Linked DNA regions of Homo sapiens: regions 2 and 3 are each linked to region 1. The links are contacts of gene promoters, found by promoter capture Hi-C in human tissues and cell types (Jung and others, 2019). All regions are on one chromosome and are shown on one strand. The core of a region is centred on a gene start or on the middle of the fragment in contact, and the rest is flanking DNA. Distances in the headings are between cores, read along the strand shown.

What was found. The method cuts DNA at HindIII sites, captures the fragments that hold promoters and counts their contacts. A contact is called where the count stands out against the background at its distance.
Region 2: the fragment with the promoter of WFDC8 here is called in contact with the fragment with the promoter of WFDC2 in region 1 in 2 of the 25 tissues and cell types used here (mesendoderm cells and thymus).
Region 3: a fragment that was not itself captured here is called in contact with the fragment with the promoter of WFDC2 in region 1 in 3 of the 25 tissues and cell types used here (liver, mesendoderm cells and thymus).

What each region holds. Positions count from the first base shown.
Region 1 is chr20:45,467,716-45,471,937 of GRCh38, forward strand. It overlaps WFDC2 (WAP four-disulfide core domain 2), which reads left to right and starts at 2,038. Exons shown (of 4, transcript NM_006103.4): 1 at 2,038-2,145; 2 at 2,674-2,817. The coding sequence starts at 2,067. RefSeq lists silencers at 2,703-2,892, 2,913-2,962. The HindIII fragment of the contact is 12,073 bases long and covers 1-4,222 here.
Region 2 is chr20:45,576,971-45,581,192 of GRCh38, forward strand. It overlaps WFDC8 (WAP four-disulfide core domain 8), which reads right to left and starts at 2,314. Exons shown (of 6, transcript NM_130896.3): 1 at 2,252-2,314. The coding sequence starts at 2,277. RefSeq lists an enhancer at 1,129-2,064. The HindIII fragment of the contact is 18,093 bases long and covers 1-4,222 here.
Region 3 is chr20:45,388,561-45,392,782 of GRCh38, forward strand. All of the region lies in intron 3 of SYS1-DBNDD2 (SYS1-DBNDD2 readthrough (NMD candidate)), which reads left to right. It also overlaps the pseudogene NDUFB4P10. Among named protein-coding and RNA genes, the nearest start is that of TP53TG5, 12 kb to the left of the region's middle. The HindIII fragment of the contact is 5,202 bases long and covers 1-4,222 here.

The DNA of each region.
Region 1 (4,222 bases), core at 788-3,287:
TCTCTAAGTCACATAGCCAGAAAGTGGCCATGGATGCATTGTCCCTGATTGGGCATGGATGCATTTGGTTCTAAAGCCTCTGCCCTTTTAAATGATGTAAAGAGAATATCTATAACTATACCTAGCACGGAACTTGGCACCACAAAAGCTAAACATCTGATGCCATTGACTGATGAAAATTCCTTCCCCATCCTTCTGCCTGGCCCTGCCACTCTCCCTCAGTCTGTATTCCTGTAAGAGAGAGCCAATCAATAGGGTGCTCATAAGGGCCTGGGAGGAGCAAGGCTGGGCAGTTTCCTGGCCCAGGGAGCTGAATAGGGCCCGGAAGAAAGCTGTTGGCAGCAGTGCCTGGGGCTGAATGTACAGTAGCCAGCTGGGTCCACGGGCTAAAAACTGGCTGCTCACCCCAGTGTTCTCTTTGTGCCCTAGACTGGGTTTCACTAGCCTGTTATGGGCTGTGTTCCCACCTGGCTCCTGCCCTCATTGTTGACTGAGCTCAGAGTAAATAGCCCTGGCCCCTCCCAATAACGTCCCCAGTCCCCAAGTTGAGCATGAGAAGCTGGGGGAGGTGTTCTCAGCATCCATTTTGGGGACAGTGGCCAGATGTACTCACATCACCAAACCCTACTCACCTGTCACTATCATCCCAGTGTTCACTGCCCCAGGGCCCCTCTAGCCTCCAGCAGCAAAGACCTCCTGGGGCTTCTAGAACCTCAGATCATTGGAGCAGGAAGCACTTCTTGTCTAACTCCCTGGGTAACTCTGTTTTGGCACTTAACCCCCTGGATTCTAAAGCTTCATTTATACTTATTGGTCTCCTTCGTCACAGGAGACACTTATCTGTGGAGCACTCATGGCCATGTATCCAGTACCTATCATGGGTCAGGCCTGGAGTCCCTGTGTCAATCAGTGTGGATCTACTCTCAATGCTCCCAGTGAGTACATGGTTGTTCCGTGGCAGGAACGTTGCATTTGTGTTCTCACTGAAGTCCCATATAGGTGTCATTTTCACTGATGATGTGGCAGCTCAGATCCAGGAAAGGATTCATTCCAGGGCCCTCAGGTGGGAAGTGGTGGAGGTGGGAGTCAGACCCCAGACCCTGTCACCCCTTCAAGACCAGTGCTGGAGGGCCCCTTTTGACGACTTTCTCTTCACCAAGCGTCTTGCCCTGCATATGTCACACAGTAGGCACCCAGTGAATATTTACGACGGAATGGAAAAAACAAGGGCCTGGAGGGAGAGACCTGGGTTCAAAACCTTATTTGTACAGCTTTGCAGGGGACCTTGTGGTGGAGGTGCGGTCCTAAATCCCTAAACACTCAGTTCCTTTGTCATATACAGCTGATAACAGTAACTCCCCGGTCAGAGGACCGGCGACAATTCCTTGAGACAAGGAGCACAGAGCCTGGCACAGTCAGCCCTGATCAGGGGCCGGTAGGACAAAGAGAGGGAGACAGAAACACACACCCAAACGGCTTGAGACTGCTAGGTGCTTCACCTTCCTGGGCCTGTTTCTGATGAGGAGGGTTTGTTTATTAATAATAAGTGCTATTTCTGTAGCCCCTACTATGTGCTCTGTATCACTACCCTAGCCCTCCATCAAGAGGGATCTGCCCTCTCATCTGGCTGACCCCAAATCGAACCCTTTAACCCGCATGCTCTACTGCCTCCCTGCGGGCCCTGCCTTATCCTCCTCAACCGCCCACTGGGGACACTCTGGAGAAACCTCGGAGTCTTGGAATAGAAACCCAGGAGCCCTGAGCCTTGGCCCTCAGGCCCCAGGAGGGAGGTCAGGAGGGAGGCGTGGACAAGGGTCCGGCCGTAGCTGGTCCCGTCCTGGAAGCTGCTTAAGTTCCTGGTTCCCACCGGGGCCAAGAGTGATACCTGATCCTGGGGGATTGTGAAATGACCTCATGTGGCAGCCCGCCCGCGGTGCCCGCAAAGCCCTCCACCCTCCCCTTCCCCGCTCGGCTCCACCCCTACCCCACGCCCCCTCCCGCGCGCGCGGTTAAATCCCCGCACCTGAGCATCGGCTCACACCTGCACCCCGCCCGGGCATAGCACCATGCCTGCTTGTCGCCTAGGCCCGCTAGCCGCCGCCCTCCTCCTCAGCCTGCTGCTGTTCGGCTTCACCCTAGTCTCAGGTGAGTGGGGCGGGGAGAGGCCCGGCGCCTAGAGGGGCCGAGCCACGAGCGCCAGGATGGAGCCAGGCGGAGGCGTAGCCTCTGGAGGCTGGGGAAGTGGGAATTCCGGGGGCGGAAGTGGCGGGGACCCTTGGAGCCTAGGGTGTGGGGTCCAATGTGCTGGAGGTGGAGAGACCACTGATGGCTGCAATTTGGGAGGATTCTGTGCTGAACGCGGACACTCCGTGGCTGCAGTGGGCTGGGGGTGGGGGCTGCTCTGCCTCGACCTCGGAAGCTCCGAGACGCTCAGCTGTGCGGCGTCCCCTAGGGCTGAGATCTGAGGGCCCCGACGCCAAGGGTTAGGGAGCTCTCGTACTCCCAGGGGTCAGGGACTCCTGGTCTGGAAGAAGGAGTCTCTGGGGGCTGTAAGGGGACTCCTAGGGCCAGAGACTGAGAATTCCTTGGGGTTAAGGTTTGGAGCAGGAGGTGGGCATCCTCTGGGGCTGGCGCTACGCCCCACCCTCGACTGTCCCGGGCCTCCCCTCCCAGGCACAGGAGCAGAGAAGACTGGCGTGTGCCCCGAGCTCCAGGCTGACCAGAACTGCACGCAAGAGTGCGTCTCGGACAGCGAATGCGCCGACAACCTCAAGTGCTGCAGCGCGGGCTGTGCCACCTTCTGCTCTCTGCCCAATGGTAACCCCACGGCGGCCGAGCGGGAACGGGGCGGGGCCGCGCTGGGCTGGGAGGAGGTGGGAGGGCCCGGGTTCCGGGAACAGGGGCGCCCCCGGACCCGGGGACCCCCGGGAAAGTCAAGGCGGTTGAAACCAGATCCGTCAGTCCTCTCCCTCGCACGGCCCAGGGGTAGACAAAGGCGTCGTTGAAACGCAGCCAAGGGGGGGTCCCCACCCCTAGCTGGGATTCGAGTCTCTGGTGCATGACGGGCTTCCGGGCACGCACAGCCGGGACATTGTTCCCCGCGGCCTGGGGACCCGGGGCCGCAGTTTCCTTCTCGAACCGGCCGAAGCCTGCCCTGCGGGAAAGCCCGGAGCCTGGGGCGCTCACCTCTCCTCTTGGAGTCCCTCCCTGGGGGCCTCCCCCAGCCCTGGGGAAAGACTGGGAGAGCCTGGCCTGGCAAGATTTTCCCCAATTCCTCTGTCCAGGCGGAAAGGAACTTTACAGATTTAGGAAAATGCCCCGCTCATCTTAAAGATGTGTAAGGGAGCATCGGTGAGAAAAAAATGTTCTTGCCCAAGGTCACACCGCCATCCCATGGCTGCTGGAGTCATAGTGAGGGTTCAGCTTTTGCCTTTCAGGCCAACTGGCTGAGTGATTCGAAGAAAGTGAGGAATCCTCCCTGGACACTGTATCGCCCTTCGTCGTCTTTCAGTCAATCTCTTCCACTCTAAGGATTGAGTGAGCGCGAGCTGGGGACTCTCTCAAAGGTGCTTGCTGGAGCTGCAGTCTCCACCAGGCTATCAGAACAGGGGGTGGCTTAAACAGCATGGAATCTCAGCTTTCCGTTCTCCAGAGGAAAATGCTGAGGATTAGAGGCAGGGATAGGACCTGGAGAGAACCAAGGTACTGTAATGATGTTCTTTATCCAGAATACAGCCCCTGTGACTTTTCCTCTCTGTTATTTCCTTGAAGATGCCAGCACAGGCTGGGAAGGTTTGTAATACGGTGACCCAAGACACCGATCAGCAGGGAGGTGGTAAGTGGAGGGGGACTGGCAGCCCACCAAGGGCAGCTTCAAGGTCATGAGTCCCCTCCTCTGGGCCAGGGAGAGGAGGACCAGAAGGAGAGAGGAAGATTTGGAGAGAAAGCAGGCAGCAGCCAGATGAGAGAGGTGGAGGAGCAAAGGAGGGAGTCTTTGCTGTTTGATGGATGAAGAATTTGTTCCCTTATCTCAGATGGACAGACTGAGGCAGGAAGAGGGACAAGGTCAGATGGCCTCCTGAGCCAGGGAGGCAGCCTGGAGGTTTGAATCCTAGTTCTGCCATTTTCTAGTTATGTGATCCTGAGCATGTTGTTTACCTCTCTGAGCCTCTGCTCTAAGATGGGAATAATTCCAAACTCTATAGGATTGGCATGAGGACTA
Region 2 (4,222 bases), core at 1,064-3,563, 110 kb after region 1:
TGCCAATTTGCCTACTTGCTGAAATTTATTTATTACCCAAAAATCAATACTCATGATGCTTTTGTGGTCATTCAGGGATATGTGCAGAATGGCAAAAAATTTGAGTCCCCCAACGTACACATTCCCAGCTGAAGTCAAACAAGGCAACGCTCTGCTTGTTTAAGCTCTTCTACTACTATAAACAAGCTTCCTTTTTGCAGTCTACTTAGTGTCACATTTTTCACATTTTTGTGCTTTTTGTTGGTGAGTTTGCTGTTTAAAATGGCTGCCAAGAATTACTAAAGTGCTGTCAAGTGTCCTAAGAGCAAGAGGCCTGCAATGTGCCTTACAAAGAAATTACTTGTGTCAGATAAGCTTGGTTCAGGCATGAGTTACAGGGCTTTCAGCCACAATTCAATGTTAATGAAACAATAATATATATTACATAAGGTGTCTTTTTTTTTTTTTGAGATGGAGTCTCACTCTGTCGCCAGGCTAGAGTACAGTAGTGCGATCTCGGCTCGCTGCAACCTCCGCCTTCTGGGTTCAAGTGATTCTCCTGCCTCAGACTCCCGAGTAGCTGGGATTACAGGCACCCACCACCACGTCCTGCTAATTTTTTGTATTTTTAGTAGAGATGAGGTTTCACTGTGTTGGCCAGGATGGTCTCAATCTCCTGACCTAGTGATCCGCCTGCCTCAGCCTCCCAAAGTGCTGGGATTACAGGCATGAGCCACCGCGCCTGGCCTATATACATGTTTAAAAAATAAAGACAGGGCCAGCACGGTGGCTCATGCCTGTAATCCCAGCACTTTGGGAGGCTGAGGCAGGCAGATCACCTGTGGTCAGGAGTTCAAGACTAGCCTGGCCAACACGGTGAAACCCTGTCTCTACTAAAAATACAAAAATTAGCCTGGAGTGGTGGTGCACACCTGTAGTCCCAGCTACTCAGGAGGCTAAGGCAGGAGGATCCCTTGAACCCAGAAGGTGGAGGTTGCAGAGAGCCGAGATCACACCACTATGCTCCAGCCTGGGGGACAGAGAGAGATTCCCTCTCAAACAAAACAAAAAAAATAAAAATAAAAATAAATAAATAAATAAAGTATGTAGAGTTTTATTTAATAATTAACCACACAGATTAAAAAATAGAAAGTAGCCAGCTTCCCAGAAGTCTTCTGTGTGCACCTTCTAATTACCATCTCTGTCATGTGTCTTCAGACAGAAGCACATATAAAAACAAGGTTATGTATTGATCAAATGATGAAAATGTGTGGTCAGAGGCTTGCATTTTCCCTAGGAGCAATGGCTCAGTATTTGCTAATCCGGTGTTCACAGTGACTTTACAGAACATAACTACCCCCAAGTAATGGGAATCAACTGTATTTTTATTACTTTGGTGTACAAAGAACTTTGAGCTCTCCATGGCTTGCCACAACAAAAGACTTCCTAGGCAAATTGTCTACTGCTTTGTTCCAAGTGGGGGCTCTACTTGAGGCTGTGGGACCAAGACAAAAGAAGCAGCCTCTATGTGGATTAGGCCCCTTCTCCTGGCAGAGAGAAAGCACAAAGGAGCTGGCAGAAACTCACAGTGCAAAACTCACTATGCATATGCTACATCTGCTCATACTCCAATAGGCAAAGCACAGCTGACAGCAAACCCAAAGTCAATGAGACAGAAATGTGTCTTCCTTCCACGGGCCGTTCTAAAATTGCAAGGTAATGGACAGGAGTGTCCTCTTAAAGGAAAGATGGAATGAATAGTTGTGAATAATAATATAACCCATCACTACTACTCCTGTTTTAATTTTTTGAAAATGTTTAGATACATATTATATGCTTGTTTAATTTAAAATATCAAACTTTACCTTGCTCAGGCTCTGCCCCTCCACACTGGGCCACTCAAAGATGCCCAACTTACCCTACTTGGGCTCCAACAGCCATATCAGGTTGCATTCGAGACCAGCCTGGCCAACATGGTGAAACCCCGTCTCTACTAAAAATGCAAAACTTAGCCGAGCGTGGTGGCGCACACCTGTAGTCCCAGCTACTAGGGAGGCTAAGGCAGGAGAATCGCTGGATGCATTGATGCCCTCTTCACCCTGCTTAGGCTCTGATTCCTGACACAAGACAGCTCTGTTCTGTGGAACCCCTCCTCACTATGCTTGGCCCAACTCCCCACAGCCGACCACTCTAACTTCTATGTATCCTCCTCATCTCCTTGGGCTCAGACCCTCCATGTCTGGCTACCCACCCCCATAGACACCCTCCTCACCCTCCTTCAGTTCGGACAGTCCACATCAGGCCTCTTCCCTATGGAGACAGCTTCCTCACTTTGCTCCAGCTCTAAGGCTCCTCCCTCATCTGCTCCCCTGCCTGGACACTCTGCTCACCCCACTCAGGCTCTCATTCTATGCCAGTCTGCCCCTCTAGCCCCAGGGGGATGCCTTTCTCAACATGGGCAGGCTGGTCTCCATGCTATGCTGCTTCTTGCCTCTTCACTGGGCATTCTCATCTACCCCTGGCTCCAGCACACCAGGCCAGCAGCCCTCCTACAGAGACACCCTCCTTGACCTGTTCCAGCTCTGATGCCCACACGGAGCCAGCCGTGGCTCCCTTCCCCTTGGGGCAAACGCCTACCTTGCTAAATGTGCCTATCTAATGGCTTTAGGACTGACTAGTTCAGTTAGTAAAGAAAAGGAGACAAAACAAGGAAGAGCTACTTTTCCTTTTTGTAAAAATATGTATTGTGAAAAACACCACAAAAATAAAAATATGCATGAAACATTAATGTTCAGTCTAACGAACTATTACGAAGTGACCACTCATTAAACTATCACTGAAATCAAGTAAAAAATTTCCAACACTTTCTGCTCCTTTTTCATTCTTTTCCAGTCACAACCCCTTCCTATGCTCTCAAAGGCAGCTAATGGTAGTGACTTTCTTTTTCATATTTTCAAGATCATATGTATTCCCCTAAATATGTTTTTGTTTTTGTCTGCTTCTGTTCTATATCAATGGAGTCACTTGGAATGTATTCTTTTGTGCCTGGCTTTTTGTGTTCAACATTATATTAATGAATTCCATCCACATTGTTTTGTGTAGCTGTATTTTGTCAATTTTCATTGCCATGCCATCTATTGTATGACTACACACATCTCTACTGAGTTGTTTATAGTTTGCAGCTGTTAAGAATAAAGCTGCTGTGTGTATACATAGCATGTATGTAATAACGTTCTGCACGTGTATCCCAGAACTTAAAGTATAATAAAAAACTAGGATTTTCTAAATAAAAATGTTATTTATATCAACATGTAATAAGTTTATTACGTTAAATGAATTAATAAATGTTTTTAAATGTCAAAAAAATTTTAAACAATTTACTCATGTAAAAAAAAGAATAAAGCTGCTATGAACACTCTGTGTGCATTTGCTGGAGCACGTGGGCAGGTGTTCTTGTAGGTTATACATTCAGCATAGGGAATGATGGGTTACAGGGTATGCATATCTTCAGCTTCTCAAGCTGATACCAAATTATTTCCCAAAGAGTTTGTACCAATTCACAGCCTTGCCATTGGTAGTTGAGAGTTCCTATTGTTCCATAACCATGCTGTATGTAGAACTGTCACAATCTTTTCATTTTTACCATCCTGCTACGAGTATGGAAATACATCACTGTGGACTTAATTTAAATTTCTTGACTACTAATGAGGTTGAGCACCTTTTTAGATCTTTATTAACCACTTGGCTATCCTCTCTTTGATTTTCTTTTCAAATGTTTTGCTCATTGTTCTCTGGGGTTTTCTGACTTTTTCTTGCTGATTTCTACTGGAGTCATGTCTTTCCTCAGTTATATGTATTATGAACATCTTCCAGGATCAAGGGTAATCTTCTAAAACCCTTATTGGCTTGTCTTTTACCTTTTGAATGAAAGTTTTTATCACGTGCCCTTCCTACCCCAAAGACAGAATCAGGAATCCTTTTTCTATGTTCCTTTCCTACAATACAATAACTCGCTACAATACAATACAGTAACTCCAATATCTGAAGTCTTTGTGGACCTCTGCTGTTGGTTGTTTTTCTTGATTTTTTTCATCTTGTTTTCTTAAGATCTGTGTGATTTTTTTTATTGTGAGAGTACATATTTAATGGAAGTTTATGTATGTAACAATACTTTGTGGAATTTCTTGGATTCCTGTGTTTAAAGGAGAATTCTTCCGAATCAACTTGTCCTCAATTTTTCCCT
Region 3 (4,222 bases), core at 535-3,034, 79 kb before region 1:
TTGTGCTGATTAAGTACCCCTGTTTAAACCCAGATTTATGGCCAAATGCTCAGGTTGCAGTTTGTGGAGGTATGTCATATTCAGCTGGATTGAGGGTCATGGGCAGAGGGGCCAGGTGTGATGGAGTATAGTTTGGGAGAGTCATCTTGGTGACCCAGTGCACAACTGCGCCTCTTGACTCATGTATTATTCAGAAATGAGGTGTTTAATTTCCATATGTTTGGAGATTTACCTATTATCTTTTTGTTATTGATTTCTAGTTTGATTTCATTGTGATCTCAGAACACATGCTGTGCGATTTTGATTTTCAAAAATTCCTTGAGGCCGGGAGCAGTGGTTCATGCCTGTAATCCCAAGTCTCTTGGATGCCACGGTAGGAGGATCACTTGAGGATAGGAGTTGAAGGCTGCAGTAAGCCATGATCGGCACCACTGCACTCCGGCCTGGGCAATAGAGCAAGATGCTGTCTCTTTAAAAAAATTTTTTTTAGTTGACTTTTATTCTGTGACTTAAGATATAGTCTTGGTGAGTGTTCCATAAGCATTTCAAAAGAATGTGAATCTTGTTATTGTTATGTGAAGTATTGTCTAAATATTAATTAGATTCTTTTGATTGATGGCTTTTTAAAGTTCTTATACATCCTTGCTGCTTTCCTGTCTAGTGTTTCTTTTTTTTTTTTTTTGAGACAGAGTCTTGCTCTGTCGTCCAGGGTGGAGTGCAGTGGCACAATCTCGGCTCACTGCAGCCTCCGCCTCCCGGGTTCAAGCAATTCTCCTGCCTTAGCCTCCCGAGTAGCTGGGATTACAGGCGCCCGCCACCACACCCGGCTAATTTTTATATTTAGTAGAGACAGGGTTTCACCATGTTGGCCAGGCTGGTCTTGAACTCCTGACCTTAGGTGATCCACCCGCCTTGGCCTCCCAAAATGTTGGGATTACAGGTGTGAGCCACCATGCCCACCCTTCTGTCTAGTATTTCTATCAAGTGTTGAGAGAGATGTGTTGAAGTCTCCAACTTTAATAGTAGATGTCTATTTTTTTTTTCAGTTCTACCAATTTTTGTTTCATAGATTTTTAAGATCTGTTGTTTGGTATGTACACATGTATGATTGCTATGTCTTCTTTGTGATTTGACCCATTTAATATCTTTTTTTGGCCCTGGTGATTTTCTTTGCTCAGCAGTCTATTTCATCTGATATTGAAATTGCTAACTCTGCTTTCTTTTAATTAATCTTTGTATGGTGTATCTTTTTTCATCCTTTTATGTTCAGTCTACCTATGTCATATTTGAAGTGAGTTTCTTGTAGAGAGCTTATTTTGGGTCATTTTTTTCACTCCGTTTTGCCAGTCTCAGAGTTATAAAGTATATTTATAGACTACCGGCAGTTAATGCAATTATTTGTTAGGGTTTAAGCCTGCCATTTGATTGTTTTCTTTTCATTCCCTCTGCTTTTCATTCTTCTCTTTTATTTCTCTACTCTTCCTATGGGTTAAACAGTTTTTAGAATTCCATTTTTTTTATCTATGGTGAAGTGTTTTTTTTAAGTGTATCTCTTTGTGTAGGTTTTTTAGTGGCTGCTTTCTATATTACATCATACATAACATAATCTATGACCATCTACTGGTATCGACACTTTTGCCACTTTGAGTGAGGGATAGAAGCCTGACCTCTATTTAGGTCCCTTTACCCTTCTCCTTTCATAATGTAATTGTCTTAAATATCTTCATTACATAAATTGAATCCACATCAGACCATGTTATATAATTTCTGTTTTAGCCATCAAACATAATTTAGAAAATGCAAGTGAAGAAGGATAGCCCATCATATTTACCCATATTTTTATTATTTCCATTGTTCTTTCTTCACTCCTGATGTTTCGGGTTTTCTTCTTTCATCATTTCCTTTATGTTTGGAGAACTTCCTTTAGCCATTCTTTCACGGTACAGCAGGTCCTCAAATAATGTTATTTTGTTTAACGTCATTTCTTTATAATGTTGATGAGAAAAAAAAACAACAACTGATTCCCAGCCATGGCCACTGTCTGTGTAGAGTTTGCACATTCTCGTCATGTCTGTGTGGGTTTTCTCTGGGCACTCCAATTTCCTCCCACATCCCAGAGATGTGCACATTAGGTTAATTGGTGTATCTAAATTATCTAAATTATCCAAGTATGAGTGAGGGGTGTGTGTGTGTGTGCGTGCACGCATTCTGTGATGGAATGGCATCCTTTCCAGGGTGCCTTGCACCCTGAGCTGCCAGAATAAGATTCAGCCACCCAGGACCCTGAAATGGAATAAGCAGGTTGGAAATGAAGAATAAGTGAATACAAATTATTGTAAAATAAAAATTTGTAAAGTATATAATAATCATACAAATGCATAACAGTAAATAATTTGGTATAAGAGCACTCAGCCAGCCTGCCATATTTATTATTGTTTTTGAACTGCATGGTGGTAGGAGATACTCCTTACAATTTTTGCTCTGCAAAGATTTATTCCTTGGTTTAACTCACCACCATGATGACTGCTGTCACTCACTGCTTATACTAATCCAGCATGACCTCACTTTAATTACATCACCAATAGGTGAGTAAATAATGAACTTCCCTGTTTTATTAATCTTTCTTAAATGTATGTATAGCTCACATTTATTTTAATGTTTAATACTAGATGTGTCTGGGCATTTATTTAGAAGCGTGGTATTGTTTTTGTGACCAGAAGTATGCTGTATGGACTTACCTTGTTAATATCAATTAGTCTACGATAAACTTGCTTTCATTATACATCATTTTGGTTAAAGTTGCAGTTTCCAAGAAACTATTGATGACATTAAGGACTTACTATAGTTCTTCAGTTAACAAATTATGTTAGTTTTTCCTTCATTTGAGAATGTCTTGACTTTCATACCTGAAGGATTTTTTCACTTTGCTTAGCATTCTGGGTTGACGGTTTTTTCTTTCAGTACTTAAACATATTGTGCCACTTCTTTCTGGCTTTCACAGTTTCTGATGAGAAATCTGCTGCAATTTAAATTGTTGCTGTATTATTGGTAAGGTTAATTTCTCTGCAACTGCTTTCAAGACTTTAGTTTTCAGAAATTTGTTTATGGTGTGTCTTGTATGGATTTCTTTGGTTTATCATGCTTGGGGTTTAGTCAGCTTCTTGAATCCGTGTGTGTATGTCTTTCATCAAATTTGGGACACTTTCAGCTTTATTTCTTTGAACACATTTTTAGCTCCACCTTTTTTTTTTCTCTTCACCTAGGACTCCCATGACACAAATGTTAAATCTTTTGTTATAATCTTCCATGTTCCTGAAGCTTTGTTCTCTCTCTCTCTCTCTCATCTCTAGATCACCTGATCCAGCAGGTGATCTGCCCACGTTGGCCTCCCAAAGTGCTGGGATTATAGGCATGAGCCATCCTGCCTGGCTGAAATCCTCTTTTTATTTGTACTCTTTTTATCCCTGCAAATCTAAGGTGATGTTTTTGGATATATAATCCTTTTTAAAACTTGTGGGTCACTTTGAATCTTATTCAATATTACTCTGTTAGACAAAAGACATGCCCACAGATTTCTTTGCAATAAGCCCTTCTCTACTCTAGGCTTCGGCTGAGATGGCTAAGAGACAACAATCAGCCGTAAGATTTCCAGAATCACTATTGTTTTGATTTGGAGGATCTGTGAGACATATCCATAATTTGTTTAGACTCTTTAAATATGACTGAATAGTATTCTGAGGCACTGCCTTAAGTCTTTCTGAGATGTTAACAAAATATTTTACATTAATATTCTTTTTTTTTTTTTTTTTTTTTTTTTTTTTTGAGACAGGGTCTTGCTCTGTCGCCCAGGCTGGAGTGCAGTGGTGCGATCTCGGCTCACTGCAACCTCCGCCTCCCAGTTTCAAGTGATTATCCTGCCTCCGCAGTAGCTGGAATTATAGGCATGTGCCACCACGCCCAGCTAATTTTTTGTATTTTTAGTAGAGATGGGCTTTTACCATGTTGGCCAGGCTGTACATTAATATTCTCAGTTTCATATTTGGACCAGGCTTTCCTGGCAGTGCCCTGTATTTGAGTTTTGCTAGGAAGCCATTTTTAAATTTTACTATCATCTGCTATTTGGAGAGGATAAGCATTTTCTAAATCATGAAGTCTTAGCTCTTTCATGTTTAACATTCTTTCCTTTTAAAAAGTTCAGCGTTTTTCAACTCGAGCCCTATTG